4 separate regions of the Homo sapiens genome follow, and regions 2, 3 and 4 are each linked to region 1. Evidence: promoter capture Hi-C in 16 types of primary human blood cells and fetal thymus (Javierre and others, 2016). All regions are on one chromosome and are shown on one strand. Each heading gives the region's core, a stretch centred on a gene start or on the middle of the fragment in contact. The rest is flanking DNA. Distances are from core to core; before and after follow the strand shown. Region 1 holds the start of RASA2 (RAS p21 protein activator 2). Region 2 overlaps LOC105374134 (a long non-coding RNA gene). Region 3 overlaps ATP1B3 (ATPase Na+/K+ transporting subunit beta 3). Region 4 overlaps ATP1B3 (ATPase Na+/K+ transporting subunit beta 3).

Region 1 (5,108 bases), core at 2,609-5,108:
AAACAGTACTCTGATGGGGCAAATGGGGAAACCAAGTCATCAATGATCAAAGGAACTTGCTTTCCCACCAGTCCGGCAGAAACAGTTCTGTCTCATGAGTGTCCAGCCCTATGAAAATGATCTACATTTAAATATTAAAAAGAAAGCACATTTCTCTTCCTCCTACTCGCCAGAAAAAATGTAATAAATAACTCAAGGCCAGGAGACAACCCCTTACAATGCCATGTTATAGGTTGGTGGGTGCTGATTCAAAAATATGCCGTAACAGACAAGTTATGGAATTAGTTTCTAGCTGCAGGTTATAGTCTTCTTATTAAGAGACAATGTAGTTTTCCTACATCATCTGCCATAAAGCAAGCCAATGTATGGGTTGAAATGACTGAATGAGTTTAAAACTGGTGAAGAAATAGGAAAAGACATAGTAGTGAATGGTTGCTCATCAGAACGAAGAGTGGTAGGGATAGAAGGGATGGCCTTTAAACACATTCATTAATAATTTGAGGAAGGAAGTGAAGTTCAAGTTTGTGATGATGCAATATTGTTCCAGTTACTAAACATCATGAAGAAAAGAGAGGAACTCTAGATGAATTTAAAACATAATGCAAGGGCAATAAGGGGAATGAGATGTAACAGCCTTCTCGTAATTATACTGTATGTCTTGTTAGTCTTTAGAAAACTTTATTTTCGGCCGGGCGCGGTGGCTCACGCCTGTAATCCCAGCACTTTAGGAGGCTGAGGCTGGTGGATCACGAGGTCAGGAGATCAAGACCACAGTGAAACCACGTCTCTACTAAAAACACAAAAAAAATTAGCCGGGCGCAGTGGCGGGCGCCTGTAGTCCCAGCTACTAGGAAGGCTGAGGCAGGAGGATGGCATGAACCCGGGAGGCGGAGCTTGCAGTGAGCCGAGATCGCGCCACTGCATTCCAGCCTGGGCAACAGAGCAAGACTCCATCTTAAAAAAAAAAAAAAGAAAAGAAAGAAAGAAAGAAAACTTTATTTTCCAAATATTTTATATTAAGGAAACATTGACATTACCCAAGATCTCTTCAAAGTAGGCAAGTATCAGTAAAAACAGAATAATTAGAAGTGACTTCGGATGAAAAAGCAATGGAGTTTGGGGATTTTAGTGAAACGGTATAAGTCCGAAATCTGCAAAAGGAAGACTGTCTGGAAGAACAAAAAAGTGGAGTGTCCCTTTATGTAAAATTGTTTTCATACCTTTAGTGACCATTTAGTAACAGAGTTATGCACTTGGGGTTAAGCTAGTGAAAAGGAAGGGAAGTTAGAAGATTTTGACACTAATGGACAAAGATATTGATACTTTGTCCATTGGATACGTTTGTCCATTGGATACATTTGTCCATTTGTACATTGATACTTTATCCATGGATACATTTGTCCAAAGGTTCAAATAATTTCTCTGTTTATTGGAGAAAGAAATAGATGGATGAGGCATCGCTTGGCCAAGCAGGAGGAAGGCCAGAATCAGGCTGGTGAGAAAAGGGGCTCAGTGTGGCTGGAGATCAGAGGAGTCAGGTACGCTGGATCCAGTTCCAACTCTTGGCTGAAGAATTTGAACTTTAGTCATTTCTAGCATTGTTCATTACCTGTAGTGTGCTCTTGCTAGCTGGCTGAAGGGATAAATGAAGCCACTGATGTCCTCTTGAGCAGGCAACTGATAAGCTCCATTTTTTTTGTTAGGAAAGTTAATTTAAGTGGTATGTAGGAGGAATGAGAGGGATGGGGGACTTATTACCAGAGTTCCAGTCAAAAGCATGAGGTCAGTTACTGAGGTAATCCTACTACGTGCTCAGCATTCCACTAGACACTTAACACCCTGCTCCCAATACTTATTTAATCTTAATAACAACCCTTCAAAGAAGAAAGTTTAGCATTTCCACTTTACTGTTAAAGAAACAGGTTCAACCGGGCGCAGTGGCTTACACCCAGCACTTTGGGAGGCTGACGCGGATGGATCACTTGAGCCCAGAAGTTCAAGACCAGCCTGGGCAACATGGCAAAACCCCATCTCTACCAAAAATACAAAAATTAACTGGACATGGTGGCGCGCACCTGTAGTCCCAGCTACTTAGGAGGCTGACATGGGAGGATAGCTTGAGCCCAGGAAGTTGAAGCTGCAGTGAGCTGAGATCGTGCCACTGCACTCCAGCCTAGGCAACAGAGCAAGACTGTCAAAAAAAAAAAGAAAGAAAGAAAGAGAAGAAACAGAAACAGGTTTAGGAAGGTTGAGTAACTTGCCCAAATGTAAAAGGGGTAGAAACAGGCTCTATGTCTGATTCTAAAAAGGGATGCCTTTAAAAATAAGGGGGAAAAAACCCTGTAACACGTTGATACTCTTTAAATGAGAATAATTTTAACAAGGGCAATGACAGAGAATGGAAAGGAAGGAAGAGATTTCAGCAGAGTCAGAAGGATGTGGCAACTGAAAACAGCATTGGGACAAGGGATAAGAAAAAGTCAAAGTTTCTGGCCTGAGTAACAGTATAAGATGTGAACTCAGATTTGGAAAGGGAGACAGGAAATTAAGTTTTGGACTTATGTTTGAAATGACAGCAAAACATTCATATAAGAGGAAGTGGTTCACTTTATCCAACAAGTGTAAAGATCACATGGGGAAATAGAAGTCACCTGCAACACAGGCAGAACTGGAAGCTTCGCTGGCCAGGTCCATGTTAAACTCTGACCATTCTCTGGGGCTGTCCAGCCTTTGCACAGGCGGCGCGTTTGTCTTCAGTTTTCAGGTTTCCCCGTCCTATTTCTTATCTCCCAGTGCCTCTGGCCTTTTCTGTGTCTCCCTCCAGAATGAGCTGGAGCTCTCTTCATCTTGACCTTTGTGTAGTCTCTGAGGTCTGAGGCCATCACTATGTCTGACCCTCAAAAAATATTTGTTGACTGACTGGCTTATTCCTGTTGTTGCCCTGGAAAAGAATTACCCTGCCCGATTAAGTCACAGTTTCTTCCTTCTTAGGGCAGCGTAGTTAACAACCTCAACACCAGGAAATTGTCTTCCTCATCACATACCAGGGTATTATTCATGCAGTTTACTCACTGTAAAGAGTTCCCTTGAAATAAAGCTAACAATTAGTCAAAGATTTACACATTTCCTAGGGTCAGTCAACTTTTTAACAAAGCCAACTTTTAGTAGTGGTGGCGGTGGCGGGGGGGAGCCCTTCTTTGCTTTTTCTGTTCCTGAAATACAAAAGTGATGGTAAATGCTTCAGAATTTCTCTATGAGAGGGTCTCAGGCACTGCACTCACGCTGGAGTTGGGGGTGGCTGGTCCTTTTCTTGAACCAGGTTTTGCAGAGAATTGGTCCTAGTAAAGAGTATTTGTGTGGGAGGAGTTTGGCTTGCTGGCGGGGAGTATTTGGATAATACTGGAAGAGCCTCAAATGCATCTCTTGCCTCCTTTTGAATAAGATACTTTTGAGGTCCACCCACCTGCCAAATTCCATTCTATTTTCTTCCCACAGGGAGTTTCCCTGATTGGGAAGGGCCTGTATTTCCCGCGAGCGTTAGGAGATGTGCAGGTCTATTCATTGGGGGAGCCCAATTCCCGGGAGGATTTAGGGATCACGGGAGGGCCGGGGCGTTCTCCTGGTGGGGATTTTAAGGCCGCTCAGAGCCACGACTGGGAGCTACCCTTAGCCAGCGCCCCAAGCCGGGAGTACGGTTCTCTGCAGGGTAGCCCGGCTCGGGGGTGGCGAAGGCGGTGAATGGAGACCCGGGGGGGGCGGGGGCGGGGCCGCGGCGGGCGGGGCGGGGCGGGGCGAGTCGGGCCGAGGCCCGGGGGCGGGGCCAGGCGCGCGGCTGGCCTGGGCCTAGGCCGCTGCTGGGCTCCGCCTCGCCCGGCTACGCAGGCGGCAGGGCTGCGGCACGGGCCGGGCGGCACCATGGCGGCGGCGGCGCCTGCTGCTGCGGCGGCTTCTTCCGAGGCGCCAGCGGCGAGTGCGACTGCAGAGCCCGAGGCCGGGGACCAGGACAGTCGCGAGGTTCGAGTGTTGCAGAGCCTGCGGGGCAAGATCTGTAAGCGGGGGCTGGGCTGAGGGGACGCCCTGGCGGCGCTGGGCGCGAGGCTGAGGGGGCGGCGGGTTCGCGGCGGTGGCGGCGCCGAGCTGCGCTGGGATCGCGGGCCCGGGAGGGGGCCTGGGCCGGGCGCGGTTGAGGCTGGAAGGGGGTGTGTTGGGGGGCGGCGTCGCCTCGACGGGGCGGCGTGGGCCGGGGCTGCTGCTCTCCGGAGGGAGTGGGAGCTGGAGATGGGCCTGGGGTGGGAGAGCCCGGGCTGCGCCGGCGTGAGGGGCTCGGTCGTGGGGAGCGGCCTGGACGCGGGGACGCTGGAGTCCGGGGCGCGGCCGGGGGCGCGGTCCGGGGGCGTGAGGAGCTTCCGGCCGCCCTCAGACTCAGGCCTTCGCGCGGCTGCGGGCGCTGGGGAGTGGCCCCGCGGTGGGAGCCGAGCAGTAATTATACGGAGGCGCGGCCCGAGGAGGTGGCGGGCTGGGAAGTGGGGCTGGCCCGAGGGGAGGGGGCTGTTCGTTTCCTGGGCTCGGCGAGCCTGGGAGAGGTTGAAAAAGGCGCCCTGAGCTGCAGGAAACGGGCCGCCCTGGGGCCCGAGTGGCTACCGCGCGGTCTGTTCGCGGGTGAGCGCCCCGGGAGGAGCTCGGCGGGACACCTGTACTTGCCCCACCTCGCTGCGGCCGGGACTTGAATCGAGGGACGGCGTGACAGGCGGGACTAAAGGCAGGATGTAGTGGCTTCCTGTGAGCAGGTCTCAAAACACAATCACCCAGCCCGCACTCAGCCCGCTTAATTCCCTTCCTTCTCATGCGTGTAATTGCTACTTTAGTGAGCGAGCCTACCAGTTGACTAAATACGAAATTTTGCTCAGAGTTGTCCGAGCATTACTGTGGACAGATTATTTGAGTTCTGTCATTTGAACATTTTAGTTTTAAAAACGACCCTTTGGTGTCAGGTTGCCATTTTTTTTTTCACAGTGGTTTATTTAGATGAAGTGCTTTTTGTTTTCTGTTTGTAAGAGAGATCAATAACATTTATTTTTGCATTTGTCGAAAATTAGCATTATTTTCTT
Region 2 (5,207 bases), core at 652-3,151, 370 kb after region 1:
AACTCAATGACTATTCCCAAATGGGTTATTTTTATTTTTTAGAGACAATGTCTCATTGTGTTGCCCAGACTGGTCTCAAACTCCTCTGAGCTGAAGTGATTCTCCTGCCTCAGCCTCCTGAGTAGCTGGAACTACAGGTGTGTGCCACCACAGCCTGGCACCAAATAGATTGTTAATCACTGAAGGTGTGCAACTAGTTCTTTATCTGACCTACACAGTGTGTTGGCTTGAAGGGGCATGAGCTGGTGAAGCAGTTTGGCTGTTTAAGTGAACAATGATGATTTTGGGGTGATTCTTTCTAAGAGCTAACATTGCCTGTGGCCCCCTGTTCTTTGGATTGCTACAAGAAGGGACAAATCAGATTTCTGTTGTACACAGTGATGTACTGTGCCGCTCTCAGGCAGACTGTGGCTGTCATCCTGCCTATCTGTCTTATGTTTTCTCCCCTTTTAATCATTTCTAGGGACTTACTGAGTCCAGTGACTTTGGTTCCTGTGCTTTTGTTTCCCCATGTGAAGAATTCTACTAGGATTAATAATTTCATTGGGGAACGGACACGGTGGCTCACACCTGTAATCCCAGCACTTTGGGAGGCCGAGGTGGGCAGATCACGAGGTCAGGAAGTTGAGACCATCCTGGCCAATCTGGTAAAACCCTTCTACTAAAAATACAAAAATTAGCTGGGCATGGTGGCACGTGCCTGTAATCCCAGCTATTCGGGAGGCTGAGGCGAGAGAATTGCTTGAACCAGGGAGTTGGAGGTTGCAGTGAGCCGAGATCGCGCAACTGCACTCCAGCTAAAAAAGAAAAAAAAAATCATTAGGGATATCGTAAGAAAGACTTTGAACATCAAAAAAGAAAAATGATTGTAGTTGATTGAAACACATCAAATCTCCAAAAATCCAAAGTCTATAACAGTAAGAGAAAGCTTGTGTGTCACCATTTGAAACAACTGTTTACTTTGAAAGTGGATAACGAGGGAGAAGTAGGCATTTATCCTGCCTTTGCAGTAGCAACTCTACTGCAGAAACCAAAATAATCCCAGATGACAGGGGAAAACTCTACATTTATACATTTATAGGTTACATTTACATTTATACCGTTACTTTACACTGAAAGAATCATTTGTAGTACCTAAGGAAATTATCAATTCAGGCAAGGATTATCAGTTGACCTTAAAGCTCTAAGAATGGGAAACTGGTTACTGATGCTGTACCAAAGTTATACCACTTGGGTCACTTTCTGGTCATAGGAGATGAAAAACATAACTATATGATGGAGGCCTGGTCTCTTAAAAAAATCAGTGTAATAAGACAGTTAAATAATAATAATAATAATTAAATAGAATATGAGGTTCTGGGTTAGTTCATGATCTGTACAAACCAGCTATAAAGGACATTTGGAAGCCAAATGAAGAAATTTGAGTATGTATTAAGTATTAGATAATATTAAGAAATTGGGCCGGGCATGGTGGCTCGCGCCTGTAATCCCAGCACTTTGGGAGGCCAAGATGGAGGAATCACAAGGTCAGGAGATTGAGACCATCCTGGCTAACACGGTGAAACCCCATCTCTACTAAAAATACAAAAAATTAGCCGGGCATGGTGGCACAAGCCTGTAGTCCCAGCTACTTGAGAGGCTGAGACAAGAGAATCGCTTGAACCCTGGAGGCAGAGGTTGCAGTGAGCTGAGATCGTGCCACTGCACTCCAGCCTGAGCAACAGAGCAAGACTCCGTCTCAAAAAAAATAAAAAAAGAAATAAATGTTAATTTTGTTAGATGTGAAAATGTTATTTTGGCTATATAGGAAGACATTTAACTCTTTAGAAATGCATACTGGAGAATTTAAGACTGTATCAGGAGATTACAAGAGATTTATTTCTCCCTCGCTCCATCACCATCCCAGGTCAGCTGTCACTCTCCTTGTTATCTGCAGTCTGGTGTGCAGGCTGAAGAAACAGCCCTGTGTGGGACACTGCTGGTCTTCTGGTAGAAAGAAAAGAAAGATGATGGAATCACACTGTGATTCAGATTGTGGGCTGCACTTCCACTTACGTTTTATTGGCTAAAGTAAGTCACATGGTAAAGTCTTGTATCAGTGGGGGTAATTTTCCCACAGGGTTGGGCAGTAGGATTATTTAGAAGTCAGTGACAAGGAGGACAAAGCATCTCAAACACTGAGAAATAACAAAATTGTTTATCAGGAAGAAAATTATAATGTTAAATCCAGATGTTAAAAAGCAAGAAAGATTGAAAATGAGTGAACTTAGCTTTCAACTCTAGAAACTAGAAAATAACAAATAAACCAGAGAAGGTAGAAGGAAGGAATTAATAAAGATAAAACAGATAATATGAAATAGAAAACCCAACACAATAATTTGATGTTTTAACAAGCTCAAAACATAGAAAGCCTTTGGCAAGTATGAACTAGGAAAAAAAACAAAGAAAGAAAGAAAGAAAGAAAAAAGACACTATAACATCAGAGAGGAAAACAGAATGCAGAGATTTCAAATTTTTTAAGTGCTATGTGCAGCTTTATTCCAATGAATTTGAAAATCCAGACCATGGAGAATGGCTTTCTAAAGAAATATAAATTACCAAAATTGACTCAAGGAACAGAAAGCCTGAACTTATCAATAGTAATATAAGAAATAGTCAAAGATCTACCTTCAAAAAAGAAAACAAGTCCACATGGTCCATAAGGCAAGGTTCTACCAAGAGTTCAAGGAGGAGATAAACCCCACATAATGTGAAAGATGGAGAGTTTACCAAGAGCAGACTATCACTTTGCAGCTACAGATGCTGTATAACGAAGGTCTGGTCCATATAAATTACCAAAATTGACTCAATGGGGATGACCACAATTCTGAATTCCTAAGCTTTTGATCTCATGAAAACTAAAACAGGAGCCTTGACCAGAATGGTTGTTACAGCAGGTTCACATATTGAATGTTTGCACTTGTTGTTCATATGACATTGATAATAAGTTTCCTTTTGCTTATGTTACGAGGTGTTAGGTGATAGTACAGTTTATTTGGCCCATCTTTTTTGTGTTCCTGTTGGCTGATGCAATTCAATGTTAACAATTAAGTTATTTTCAGTGAGATTCAGGGCATTCAACAAATTAATAATTCAGGTGTGAATTTTTCTGCTTATTAAAAACTTTAAAAAATTAAGGTAAAGTTAAAATCTATGCCCTAAGTGAAAATATGAACACTCTTATACTTTGTTAGGCGAGTGGACAAGTGATTCTATGCCAAGGACATCTGAGATATATGGGAATGACTCAGGCATAGGAGTTTTGGACTCCAGGTCAGGCGAATCTAGTTACCGGAGGGGACAGAGAACAACCGCCTCACTGAGAAACTGGGAGGGGACTGTAATTACCAGGGACTTAGGAACAGAGCAGGGGTCAGCCAGGAACAGGAAGGTAAGGCAGACACCAGTTACTATAAACCTGGAAACTAAGGCCAAGGCAGTGGCAGGATAGAGTCAAACCAACCCTATCCTAAGCATTGACCCCAGTGTTGAAGGAAATGCTGAGCCTGGAGAGGAGGTGGGGATAGTTAAGAGACAGCCAAATTTCCAAGTCACATTTATTGCACCAGACATATTAACTGCTTCCTCAGAATCTCAATTCCTGCCAGAAAAGACTGACAGACTACTGCTATGAAAAGAAGACCCCTTTATTTCCTGGGTCCCTGGGAAAAAAATGATGAAGACAACAAGCCTTTTGTTTGGTGTGTGCACCCGCCTTCTAACCCTGAAGTTAACCCCAGAAATCAAAACACATTCACTTTAGAACACTGGCACATCTAAGAAGCCCAAAGTGCCTGAAGGGCATCATATAACTAAGCCCCCTTTACAAAGACTTGGCAAGTCAACACTTTGTTCTAACTTCCAAAGTAACAGTTTGAGGATCAGTTCTACATGTAAATCTGGGAACCACAAAAGGAAGTTAATCTCTGCTAGTACCAGCCTGTTGGAGACAGTCCATCCCCAAAGGCCACAGGCAGCAAGTGGCTGTGTCAGCTCAGAAGCCATACTCTTGGGGAATGTCCCACAGAACACAACACGAGGCCAAGATGCAGGCTGAAGCTAGGATTTGAGTTTCTTGGTGGCCAACTTTCATTTGTCATAGAAATAACATCCCACCTTTGTACTGTACTGCCATTTCCTCCCTCAGCACTATGTATAAGACTCCTGTTAAAATGTTTACTGTGATTTTGAGTTGAATCCTGGTGAGAATCAAAGGACATTTTACTTCCTATCATTTTCCAAATTGAGTCCCCAGGCCTGCTATTGTCTTTCTCAAGTTTTCCAACTTGGCCTCCCTTTTTCAGTTCTTCTCTCACTTTCTACCTTTACTTTAGGTGTGCCTGCCCTCAACCCGGGACACTGGAGCTAGCACCAAAGCCTACACGGAGAGGATCAGGACATCCTGTTGAGCACCAGAACATTTCCTTCCTCAAGAAAAGGAAATACAAATGGATTTATTCTCAGGGCTACAGATTTAGGAAAAAAAAAAAAAAAAGCTGTGCTTAACACCAGGCCACTGTACAATCACCAGGACTTTTCTGGATGTGGAGCAACTTCATTTGGTTATTTCAGAATGCTTTGTAAACACGGCAGACACGGACAAAGCGTGGTTGAAGCATTTCAGTTGTACTTGTCTCTCATTTTCTACACGTGTTTTCCCAAAAGCTGCTTTCCCAAAAGGAGCCTGGGGAGAGGCCTTAATCATCTGTTATCTCTCTTGCAGCTTCCTGCTCAGCCAGTGGCAAGATCCAAAATATATATGAGCATTTCCTGTTCTTTCTCATTTTGTATAACCCACATGTTAGAGAGATTGAGTTGTCTGATCTAGCTCCACATAGGACTTAGGTGGCACGTGAAAACCTAAGTCCAACCACTAAATGCTCTAATTACCCCTCATCTTAACCTAGGTAAAGGATGATCTCTTTCAAGACGTAGAATGTGCTTATCTTTCCTTGGACATTCAAAACAAAACAAAACAAGAGTCTGTTTTCAAATGTCAATGTCAAATCACAATATCATTGTATGTCTTGTATCCAGAAAGGATCTTAGTGAATATATAGCCCAAGAGGCTTAAAGTGGGGCTGTGAATAGCTTCGGAGGAGTCTATAGCTCCCTAAATTGTGAATGATAGAAATACATCAGGGAGATGTGCTTGGGTAGGGTGTGTG
Region 3 (5,111 bases), core at 178-2,677, 430 kb after region 1:
ATCGCTTGTACCCAGGAGGCAGAGGTTGTAGTGAGCCATGATCGCGCCACTCCACTCCATCCTAGGCAACAGAGCAACTCTGTCTCAAAAAGAAAAAAAAATATGCTATTCGTATACTTAGAAAATTATGACATACATGCTTCACCCTGAGTACCTCATTATTATTCAGATACTCATTTTAATATTTTACAATTTCTAAATGTTTATTTTCACAGAAGGTATAAATTAAAAGATTAAGAAAAATCCTGCCAAGATCACGTCTTAGGCACACACAGAGAGCAGTTGAGCGTCTGCCACACCTGATGGTCTTGAGCCGTGATGGCCTTAACTCTGAGCCCCAGTGCCCTGCTCCGTAATTGATGCTGTCCACTAAGGCTTGTTAGGCCTAAAGGAGGGAAGTGTAAGCTAAGTGTGGTATCTGGTAGGAAACCCACTCTGGGTTGGGTGTGGTGGATCACTTGAGGTAAGGAGTTTGAGACCAGCCTGGCCAACATGACAAAACTCCGTCTCTACTAAAGATACAAAAATCAGCCCTGCATGGTGGCGCACACTTGTAATCCCAGCTATTCAGGAGGCTGAGACAGGAGAATCGCTTGAACCCGGGAGGAGGAGGCTGCAGTGAGCCAAGATCAGGCCATTGCACTCTGGCTTAGGCAACAGAGTGAGACTCTGTCTCAAAAAAAAGAAAAAAGAAAAAAGAAACATACTCCAAGATACTCAGTAAACTGTTTCTCAAAAAAAATCCTTTTTTTCATTTTGCGGAAATGTGTTCTGTGAAGGTCATATATTAAGGTAAAATAGGTTCAACAAAAGCAATTAATGCAGAAAAGCACTGATATCAGAGTGACTAGTTTTTCTCTAATATAAAATGTTATCTTTGATTTTAAGCTTATTTTTTAAGTTAAAGAGTACAAATGTAGGGTGGAGTTTGAGTAGTGATTGAAAATGGCTTTTGCGATTTCTCCTAGCGTTGTTACTTCCTACCCTTTCCACATATTCATCATCTGGATCATTAGAGCTTGTCTGGTGGGTGGGGCGCATCATCACTCTGTCCTTTGTGCTGTCTGGCCGGTGCCTTTCATCTGTCTCTCACCCCACCCCACAGCCATATGCTGCTTCATAATGAAATGAAATGAGCAGAATCTAGAACTCCTTAGAGTGGATTCTTAGTTTTGCTTTATGCTGTTTCATGCATGCTTTCAACCCTGTCTCAAAAAAATTTTTTTATATATATATAAAATTCAAGTATTTAATAATGTTTTATTTTAACTAGTGTTCCGTAAGCCCAGCACTGATTTTAATCATTGTGGTCTGTTTGCTACTTCTCAGTCTGTGTTAAAGTTACACTCATTAGAATTAGGCCCATTTAGAAAGTGTTACATGTGAATTTTCATAAATTGCTTATTTATCATGAATAATACTAGAAATAACTAATAGCATGAATTAATTGGATTACAGGTGATGCTTGATTTGTATGTTGATAAACATGGAATTCTAGTAGACAAGTAATACTTAATGATTTATATATGCTCATAAATTTATTCCTGATACAGTATTTAAATTTGTCGAGGAGAGTTTTGCTTGTAGTACCTTAAATTTTCCTTCATGCTTCCCCTCTGGTTGCAGTTCTGGTTATTAATCACATGAAACTCACACCTGCTGTCTCCCAGGCCTGAGTGCTGCATTCTAGGTTGGCACCTTGTGGTGGCTGTTGCTTTCCAGTCTGGAAGCACAGCATTTTATTCATTTCAGGAAAACATCGGTCCTAAACCTGCTGGTGCATTCCTGCTGTTAGTAGGTAGAAAGGCTGGCATTTGGTATTTGGAGGGCAGATAAGATTTTACAGGAGTACATGAGTTAAAGAAGGGACTCTCATGAAAGAGAGTATAGAGTGTATCTGGAAGTGTAAGTATCAGGATAGTTCATGTGGAAGGGGTTAGTTAGATAATATTTGCAATCAAGATGAGCAAGCTTCTTCTCAGAAATACACTTGTAATGATAATATAGTTGGAGCAGCATTGTAGTTTCTGCAAACTGTTCATGATTGATATTCCTTTAATTATAAACATAGTTTTTACAAATTCTTTTTGTGACCTAAAGAGGATTTCTTTTGTTTTCAACTTCAGAATGAAGATATACCAAATGTAGCAGTTTATCCTCATAATGGAATGATAGACTTAAAATATTTCCCATATTATGGGAAAAAACTGCATGTAAGTATTGAGAAGTTCTTATGTGGTGATTACTCTTTTGGGAAGCTGGAGCATGTGTTGACGTACCACTTGTCTGGGGTAGGTAGACGCCAGCCCTGTTTAATTTGTGCGTCATCTATTCAGGTTTTGTTTTATTTTAATGGTGATGGTAAATGGAGTTCCCACATTTACAATTCAGAACACAGAACCCAAGCAGATACGTTAAAGTTAGATGATTATTTCTAAAATATCATTTTCTTTTTCATTATAGAGGTAGTAGTAGGTGCTTATGTAGAGAAAGTAGAAAAGTACTTAAAAAGAAAATCAAGGCCGGGTGCGGTGGCTTACTCCTGTAATCACAGCACTTTGAGAGGCCAAGGCGGGCGCATTACCTGAGGTCAGGAGTTTGAGACCAGCCTGGCCAACTTGGCGAAACCCCCTCTCTACTAAAAATACAAAAATTAGCTGGGCGTGGTGACATGTGCCTGTAGTCCCAGCTACTCGGGAGGCTGAGGCAGGAGAATCGCTTGAACCCAGGAGGTGGAGGTTGCAGTGAGCCAAGATTGTACCACCACACTCCAGGTTGGGTGACAGAATGGGATTCTGTTTCCCCCACCAAAAAAATAAATGAAAAGAAAATCAAGGCCAGGCGCAGTGGCTCACCTGTAATCCCAGCACTTTGGGAGGCCGAGTCGGGCAGATCACGAGGTCAGGAGATCAAGACCATCCTGGCTAACACGGTGAAACCCCGTCTCTACTAAAAATTACAAAAAATTAGCTGGGCGTGGTGGCAGGCACCTGTAGTCCCAGCTGCTCGAGAGGGTGAGGCAGGAGACTGGCATGAACCTGGGAGTCGGAGGTTACAGTGAGCCGAGATTGTGCCACTGCACTCCAGCCTGGGCAACAGAGCGAGACTCTGTCTCAAAAAAGAAAAAAAATCAAAAGCTCATTGCGGCCGGGTGTGGTGGCTCACGCCTGCAATCGCAGCATTTTGGGAGGCCGAGGCGGGCAGATCACCTGAGGTCAGGAGTTCTAGACCAGCCTGACTAGCATAGTGAAACCCCGTCTCTGCTGAAAATACAAAAATTAGCCGGGCATAGTGGTGGGTGCATGTAATCCCAGCTACTCGGGAGACTGAGGCAGGAGAATCGCTTCAACCTGGGAGGCAGAGATTGCAGTGAGCCAAGACTGCACCATTGCACTCCAGCCTGGGCAACAAAGCAAGACTCTATCTCAAAAAAAAAAAAAATAGGTTAGTGGACTAATGAGTTATCATAGGAGTGGGACTAGCGGCTTTATAAGAAGAGGAAGAGAGACCTGAGCTAGCAGGTTAGCATGCTCAGCCCCCTGGCCACGTGATGCCTTGCACCACCTCAGGACTCTGTTGAAAGTACCCAGCAGCAAAGAAGGTTCTCACCAGATGCAGCTCCTTGATCTTGGCCTTCTCAGCCTCCATTAACTGTAAGAAATAAATTCCTTTCTTTATAAATTACCCAGTTTCAAGTATTGTGTTATAAGCAACAGAAAACAAAGACAGTAGTACAGTTAACAAAGGAAGTTAACATATAGTGCTCTTATGAATCTGTAGACTTTGTTGAAAATCCATCAATTGTTCCAGTAATACTCTTTATAGTGAAAGACAAGTGTTTTCCTGATCCCAGATGTCACACTGTTAACACGTTTAGCAACCTATAATCAGGAATATTTCCTCAGTCTGTTTCATGGCTTTGTACTCTTCAAAAATAAGTACGGGCCTTTTATGGCTTATTTTATGTTCATTAGTTGGAGTTTGGTGGTTTTTCATGATTAAATATAGGTTGTGCATTTTGGCATGAGTGCCTCAAAAGAAATGTTGAGTTCTCAGAGTGTCAGGAGGGACATGGTATCATTTCATTCCGTTAATGGTGATACTGCCTTGATTCCTTGGTTAAGGTGGTATGAGCGAGGTTTCTACAATATACTTTTTTTCCTCTGTCATCAATAAGTATCATGTGGGGAGAAAATTAAAAAGCTCGTTACTGCCTGGCACGGTGGCTCACGCCTGTAATCCCAGCACTTTGGGAGGCTGAGACAGGCGGATCACCTGAGGTGGAGAGTTCGAGACCAGCCTGACCAACATGGTGAAACGCTGTCTCTACTAAAAATACAAAAATTAGCTGACCGTGGTGGCACACTCCTGTAATCCCAGCTACCCAGGAGGCTGAGGCAGGAGAATCACTTGAACCAGGAAGGCAGAGGTTGCAGTGAGCCGAGATTGCACCATTGCACTCCAGCCTGGCAACAGAATGCAATGTCTCAAAAAAAAAAAAAAAAAGGCCAGGTGCAGTGGCTCACGCCTGTAATCCCAGCACTTTGGGAGGCCGAGGTAGGTGGATCATCTGGGGTCAGGAGTTCGAGACCAGCCTGGCCAACTTCAGTAGCAATGGCAAAGCCCTGTCTCTACTAAAAATAAAAAAATTAGCTGGGTATGGTGGTGGGCACCCGTGACTCCAGCTACATGGGAGGCTGAGGCAGGGGAATCGCTTGAACCTGGGAGGTGGAGGTTGCAATGAGCTGAGATGGTGCCACTGCATTCCAACCTGGGCAACATACTCCATTTCAAAAAAGAATATTAAAAAATAATGATAAGGGTCGGGTGTGGCGGCTCATGCCTATATATTCCCAAGCACTTTGGGAGGCCAAGGTGGACAGATCACGAGGTCAGGAGATCGAGACTATCCTGGCCAACATGGTGAAACCCCGTCTATTAAAAATACAAAAGTTAGCTGGGCGTGGTAGCGGGTGCCTGTAATCCCACCTACTTGGGAGGTTGAGGCAGGAGAATCACTTGAACCCGGGAGTCAGAGGTTGCAGTGAGCCGGGATCGTGCCACTGCACTCCAGCCTGGGCAACAGAGCAAGACTCTGCCTCACAAAAAAA
Region 4 (4,533 bases), core at 1,274-3,773, 420 kb after region 1:
GCCTCTCAAGTAGCTGGAATTACAGGAGTGCACCACCACGCCTGGCTATTTTTTGCATTTTTAGTAGAGACAGGGTTTCATCATATTGGCCAGGCTAGTCTCGAACTCCTGACCTCAGGTGATCTGCCCGCCTTGGCCTCCCAAAGTGCTGGGATTACAGGCGTGAGCCACTGCACCTGGCCCATGTTAGTTTCTTTAGTTGGGTAATAAGGAAATTTCTTGAAAGATTTTAAACTAGCTAGGGAACGTTAGTAATATGATAGGTACTATTTAGGCTGTATTTGCTGTTTTCTGCTTACATCAAGTAGCACTGAGGCGGGCATGGCACATTGAATAGGTTCCATGAACACTATCCATGACTAAGTCAGGACGCCGCCATTTAGAGCCCCATCAGCAAACTACATCTGAGTAACTAATTTAACTGCCATTTTACACCTGGGTAAGAGCAGCAATTTACAACTTCTGTTTTTATTTTCTGTTGTTTTTTCTTTTAGGGGGAAGAGGTGGTTGATAAAGTATATTTATATGTGAGACTGACTAGTTTAAGTTTTTAAAAATTAGATTTGGTTCTTGGCAGAAGGATCTTGTTCAAGTAAGGAAAACTCACTTCACTGCTGGAAATAACTTATTTACTTGTTTCTAATGGCCACTAGTATATGGCATCAGATTTGGGACATAGCTGTTGATTTGTGTATATATTGTATGAATGTAATTCTTTATACTCATTATTTTCATTGTGTAATAGTTCCTTAGAAAGCAGATTTGGATATAGTTTGTTCATATCTGCTATATATTTATTTGCTTTATAACTATTTTGTAAATTTAATTTACATTATTTTCCTAGAAATTTAAAATCAAAATGTTCAAAACAGTATTGTAACAAGAATATTTTAAGATGACTTAAAAACACTGCTAAATAATTAAACTCTTAGCAATTTTGTTTCAGACATCTCCACTTTAATGTCAACTGCATGGGTCAACAAACTACTGTGGCCCCAGTCTGCCTATTTTTATAAGCAAAACCTTATTGGAATACAGCCACACTCATTACATTTAAGTTTCTGTCAGCCCTGGTGTAGAGGATTTTATCCCTTCGTTCCTGCAGACACCTAGATCTCAAAGAATTTCTCTTCTGTATCTTATTAAACTGGCCTGTGGGCTTTCTGTGTGTTTCATTTCCCTCTATAGCAAACTGTTTACTTCTTTGAGATTGGTCTTTTCTTTTTCTGCAACAGGATCGCAGTATGTGGTAGGGAAGTGATGCTGTCTGAAGGTGACATCCTGTTCTCCTCTCTTCTGTCCTCTCCATCCTTATTTTGGCCACCTGGTAATTGGGGGGGAGGGGTAGAATGCTAGTCTAAATTATAAAATGAAATTGCTTTAACTATTTCCCCTTTACTTGAAAAAGGGGGTTGGGGGTGATTCCTGCCTTGCAGTTGAGAAATAAAAGTTATCTAGCTTTCAGCACAATCTGTTTTGGGGTCATGGGATCTTTTGAGAATCAGAAGAAAGTTGTGGAGCCACTCCCTGGGGGGAAAATATATTCAGAAATATATTATTACAGAAATGAATCTTTGATCAGTTTTTAAACCTTGAAATACAAGTGACTTTACCAATGTATTCTAATATACTTGTTGGCAGCCACTTCTGATGTTAGAACTTTGAATATAGACATTTGAGAAAAATAATTGATTTTAAGTGTTCCCAAAGTAAATCACTGGTTCAGGATAGATCTATCTTAGTGTTCCCAAATTGTGAAAGGAAAGAGATTAAGCCCTTAATGTTGAAACGTGTGTCTCCCAAATCTTGCTTTGTGCTTAGCAGTAGAGCTATGAAATTCCATTGATCAGAGGGCTTGTTTCTGACCTTGTCCTTTTTTCACTTTTGCACGAGCCCTGCCATTTGACCAGTGTGTCCTAAACTTTATTCATTGAGTGCTGTCTTCATAAGTTGGCCTTATCTGCACATTTCCTGATATTCTTTCAATGAACTCAGTTTTTAAAATATATATTTTTTTAATTTTTTAAATATGGAACGACTCACAAATTTGCATGTCATCCTTGCACAAGGGCCATGCTAATCTTCTCTGTATCGTTCCACTGTTAGTATATGTGCTGCCAAAGTGAGCACCTAATTTTTTTGTAAAGACAAAGTGTTTCCTGGGCTAGTCCCAACTCCTGGGCTCAGGCGATCCTCCCATCTCAGCCTCTCAAAGTGCTGGCATTACAGGTGGGAGCCATTAACTCACTTTTTAAAACTTAAATTTAAGCAAATAATTACTGTCTGTGAAATATGCGTTTCATGTACTAATTCTTTTATATTCGCCACTTAAAGGATCATGTAAATATTGGGGGTTTTGTTTACCTAAAACCATCTTGTATCTTTTTAGAGGGCATCAAGTTCATTTTGGGAAACATTCCCCTATGTACTGGAATTTTAAAGCTTTGATTTTGAACCAGAGTATGAATGGTGGAAGCTGCTTTAACTTGGAAATACCAGGGAAAAGGAGGGGTCATGGGATGGGTGGGTGCTGTCTGCTGAAATACCCCTTGCTTGGGCAAATTTATGTGTCCTGAATATGAGGATATTTGGCTATGTGCATGGCAAAGCTTGGGATCGTACCCTTGCAAGAACAGTTGGTTTGTTTTTTAACCTGGCCAAACATGCATACACACACACACGCACGTGCACATTTCATAAGTTTTATTTTCTTTTACAGGTTTGATCTTGCTCTTCTACCTAGTTTTTTATGGGTTCCTGGCTGCACTCTTCTCATTCACGATGTGGGTTATGCTTCAGACTCTCAACGATGAGGTTCCAAAATACCGTGACCAGATTCCTAGCCCAGGTAATTATCTTGCAGTTATGACTTTGTTTTTTGTTTTTTGTTTTTTTTTTGAGACAGAGTTTCACTCTTGTTGCCCAGGCTGGAATGCAGTGGCATGATCTTGGGTCACTGCAACCTCTGCCTCCCAGGTTCAAGCGATTCTCCTGCCTCCTCAGCCTGCTAAGTAGCTGGGATTACAGGCATGCGCCACCACGCCCGGCTAATTTTGTATTTTTAGTAGAGACAGGGTTTTTCCATGTTGGTCAGGCTGGTCTCGAACTCCCGACCTCAGGTGATCTGCCCCGCCTTGGCCTCCCAAAGTGCTGGGATTACAGGCGTGAGCCACTGTGCCTGGCAGTGGTTACGGCTTTTAACAAAATTGAGTTATAGTTTATCTTCACCATAAATCTGTTTTATATAGCAGATAGAAGATAGCTAAACCTTGGAGCTGAGTAATGTGAAGGTTTTAATTTTTGTTGTTGTTGTTTAATATTTACATACTGATTTAAAGACCTTCACATTTATATACTGATAAATCTTGAGAGTTTGAGTGGGTTTGTTTTGTTTGTTTCGGTTTCTTTTTTTTTTTGTCAGAAGTAAGCAAATGAATATTGAGAATTCTAGTAAAAGCCACGTTTGAAGAATATAGTTATAGTTATGAGTGACTTATGAGTATCGTAGAGCAGTTTTACTTTGCCTTGAGTAATTAAGGTATATATTTTGGCACTAGCTTCAGTTAGAGCTTTGGACTTATAAAATACATACTTTGTCGTTCTAAATGGTTAGTTATGAAATTGGTAAGTTGTTAAATAATGATACCTCATAGAGAACAAAATGAATATACTCTTCATATGTTTAATTCTTCTTGATTTTCTTCTGGAAAAAAAATTCATTATACAGGAGAATGTATGCAGTAAAAAACTGAAACATCTAAACCACATTTTCTACCTCCTGATTTTATTCTTTTTAAACAGTCTTTTTTTTTTTTTTTTTTTTTTTGAGACAGGGCTTTGCTCCTGTTGCCTAGGCTGGAGTGCAATGGTGTGATCTCGGCTCACTGCAACCTCTGCCTCCCGGGTTCAAGCGATTCTCCTGCCTCAGCCTCCCAAGGAGCTGGGATTACAAGCATGTGTCACCACGCCCAGCTAATTTTTTGTATTTTTAGTAGAGACGGGGTTTCACCACGTTGGCCAGGCTGGTCTCGAACTCCTGACCTCAGGCGATCCACCCGCCTCGGCCTCCCAAAGTGCTGGGATTACAGGGGTGAGCCACCACACCTGGCCTAAACAGTCTTTGAATGCCAGCTCTCCCTTGGTGACTGGACATGACCCTTGTCCTCAGATGCTGATAATTAGAAAAGTAAGAAACAGTAATGTGCAGAACTTCAGTGTGTATAATTCCAAAGACTGTAAACTAACTGCTATAGATGACAGAGAAGGGAAGGTTCTACCTAAAGAAGAAAGTTCAGTCCTAGAGGAGTGGGATTTAGAGGGCAGGAGAGTGGGGAATCGGGCCAGGAAGGTGGGAGTCTAGCAGGTTTCTCTCTAGAGCAGTGGTTTTCAACCACTGAGTCATATGGCAGCGTCTGGAAATATTTTTGGTTGTTACAGCTAGAGAGGTGGTACTGTGAATAGAGGCCAGGGATGTTGCTAAACATCCTACAGTGCATAGGGCAACCCCCACAACAAAGAATTATTCAGCCCAAA

What was found. The method cuts DNA at HindIII sites, captures the fragments that hold promoters and counts their contacts. A CHiCAGO score of 5 or more calls a contact.
Region 2: a fragment that was not itself captured here is called in contact with the fragment with the promoter of RASA2 in region 1 in 3 of 17 cell types (monocytes, M0 macrophages and M2 macrophages); the score reaches 6.7 in monocytes.
Region 3: a contact is called between a fragment that was not itself captured here and the fragment with the promoter of RASA2 in region 1, in 5 of 17 cell types (M0 macrophages, erythroblasts, fetal thymus and 2 more). The highest score is 6.5, in M0 macrophages.
Region 4: a contact is called between a fragment that was not itself captured here and the fragment with the promoter of RASA2 in region 1, in 14 of 17 cell types (total B cells, M0 macrophages, total CD8 T cells and 11 more). The highest score is 10.6, in total B cells.

Annotation. Positions count from the first base shown.
Region 1 is chr3:141,483,169-141,488,276 of GRCh38, forward strand. RASA2 (RAS p21 protein activator 2) reads left to right here and starts at 3,859. Exons shown (of 24, transcript NM_006506.5): 1 at 3,859-4,048. The coding sequence starts at 3,916. RefSeq lists a silencer at 3,768-4,647. The HindIII fragment of the contact is 5,296 bases long and covers 2,674-5,108 here.
Region 2 is chr3:141,856,511-141,861,717 of GRCh38, forward strand. It overlaps LOC105374134 (a long non-coding RNA gene), which reads left to right. Exons shown (of 3, transcript XR_924551.3): 2 at 1,907-2,070; 3 at 4,374-4,713. Among named protein-coding and RNA genes, the nearest start is that of ATP1B3, 18 kb to the right of the region's middle. RefSeq lists an enhancer at 4,111-5,207. The HindIII fragment of the contact is 1,951 bases long and covers 927-2,877 here.
Region 3 is chr3:141,919,851-141,924,961 of GRCh38, forward strand. It overlaps ATP1B3 (ATPase Na+/K+ transporting subunit beta 3), which reads left to right. Exons shown (of 7, transcript NM_001679.4): 6 at 2,127-2,213. Among named protein-coding and RNA genes, the nearest start is that of ATP1B3, 46 kb to the left of the region's middle. The HindIII fragment of the contact is 1,083 bases long and covers 887-1,969 here.
Region 4 is chr3:141,900,901-141,905,433 of GRCh38, forward strand. It overlaps ATP1B3 (ATPase Na+/K+ transporting subunit beta 3), which reads left to right. Exons shown (of 7, transcript NM_001679.4): 2 at 2,720-2,848. It also overlaps the pseudogene RNU6-509P. Among named protein-coding and RNA genes, the nearest start is that of ATP1B3, 27 kb to the left of the region's middle. RefSeq lists enhancers at 3,524-4,024, 4,025-4,525. The HindIII fragment of the contact is 167 bases long and covers 2,441-2,607 here.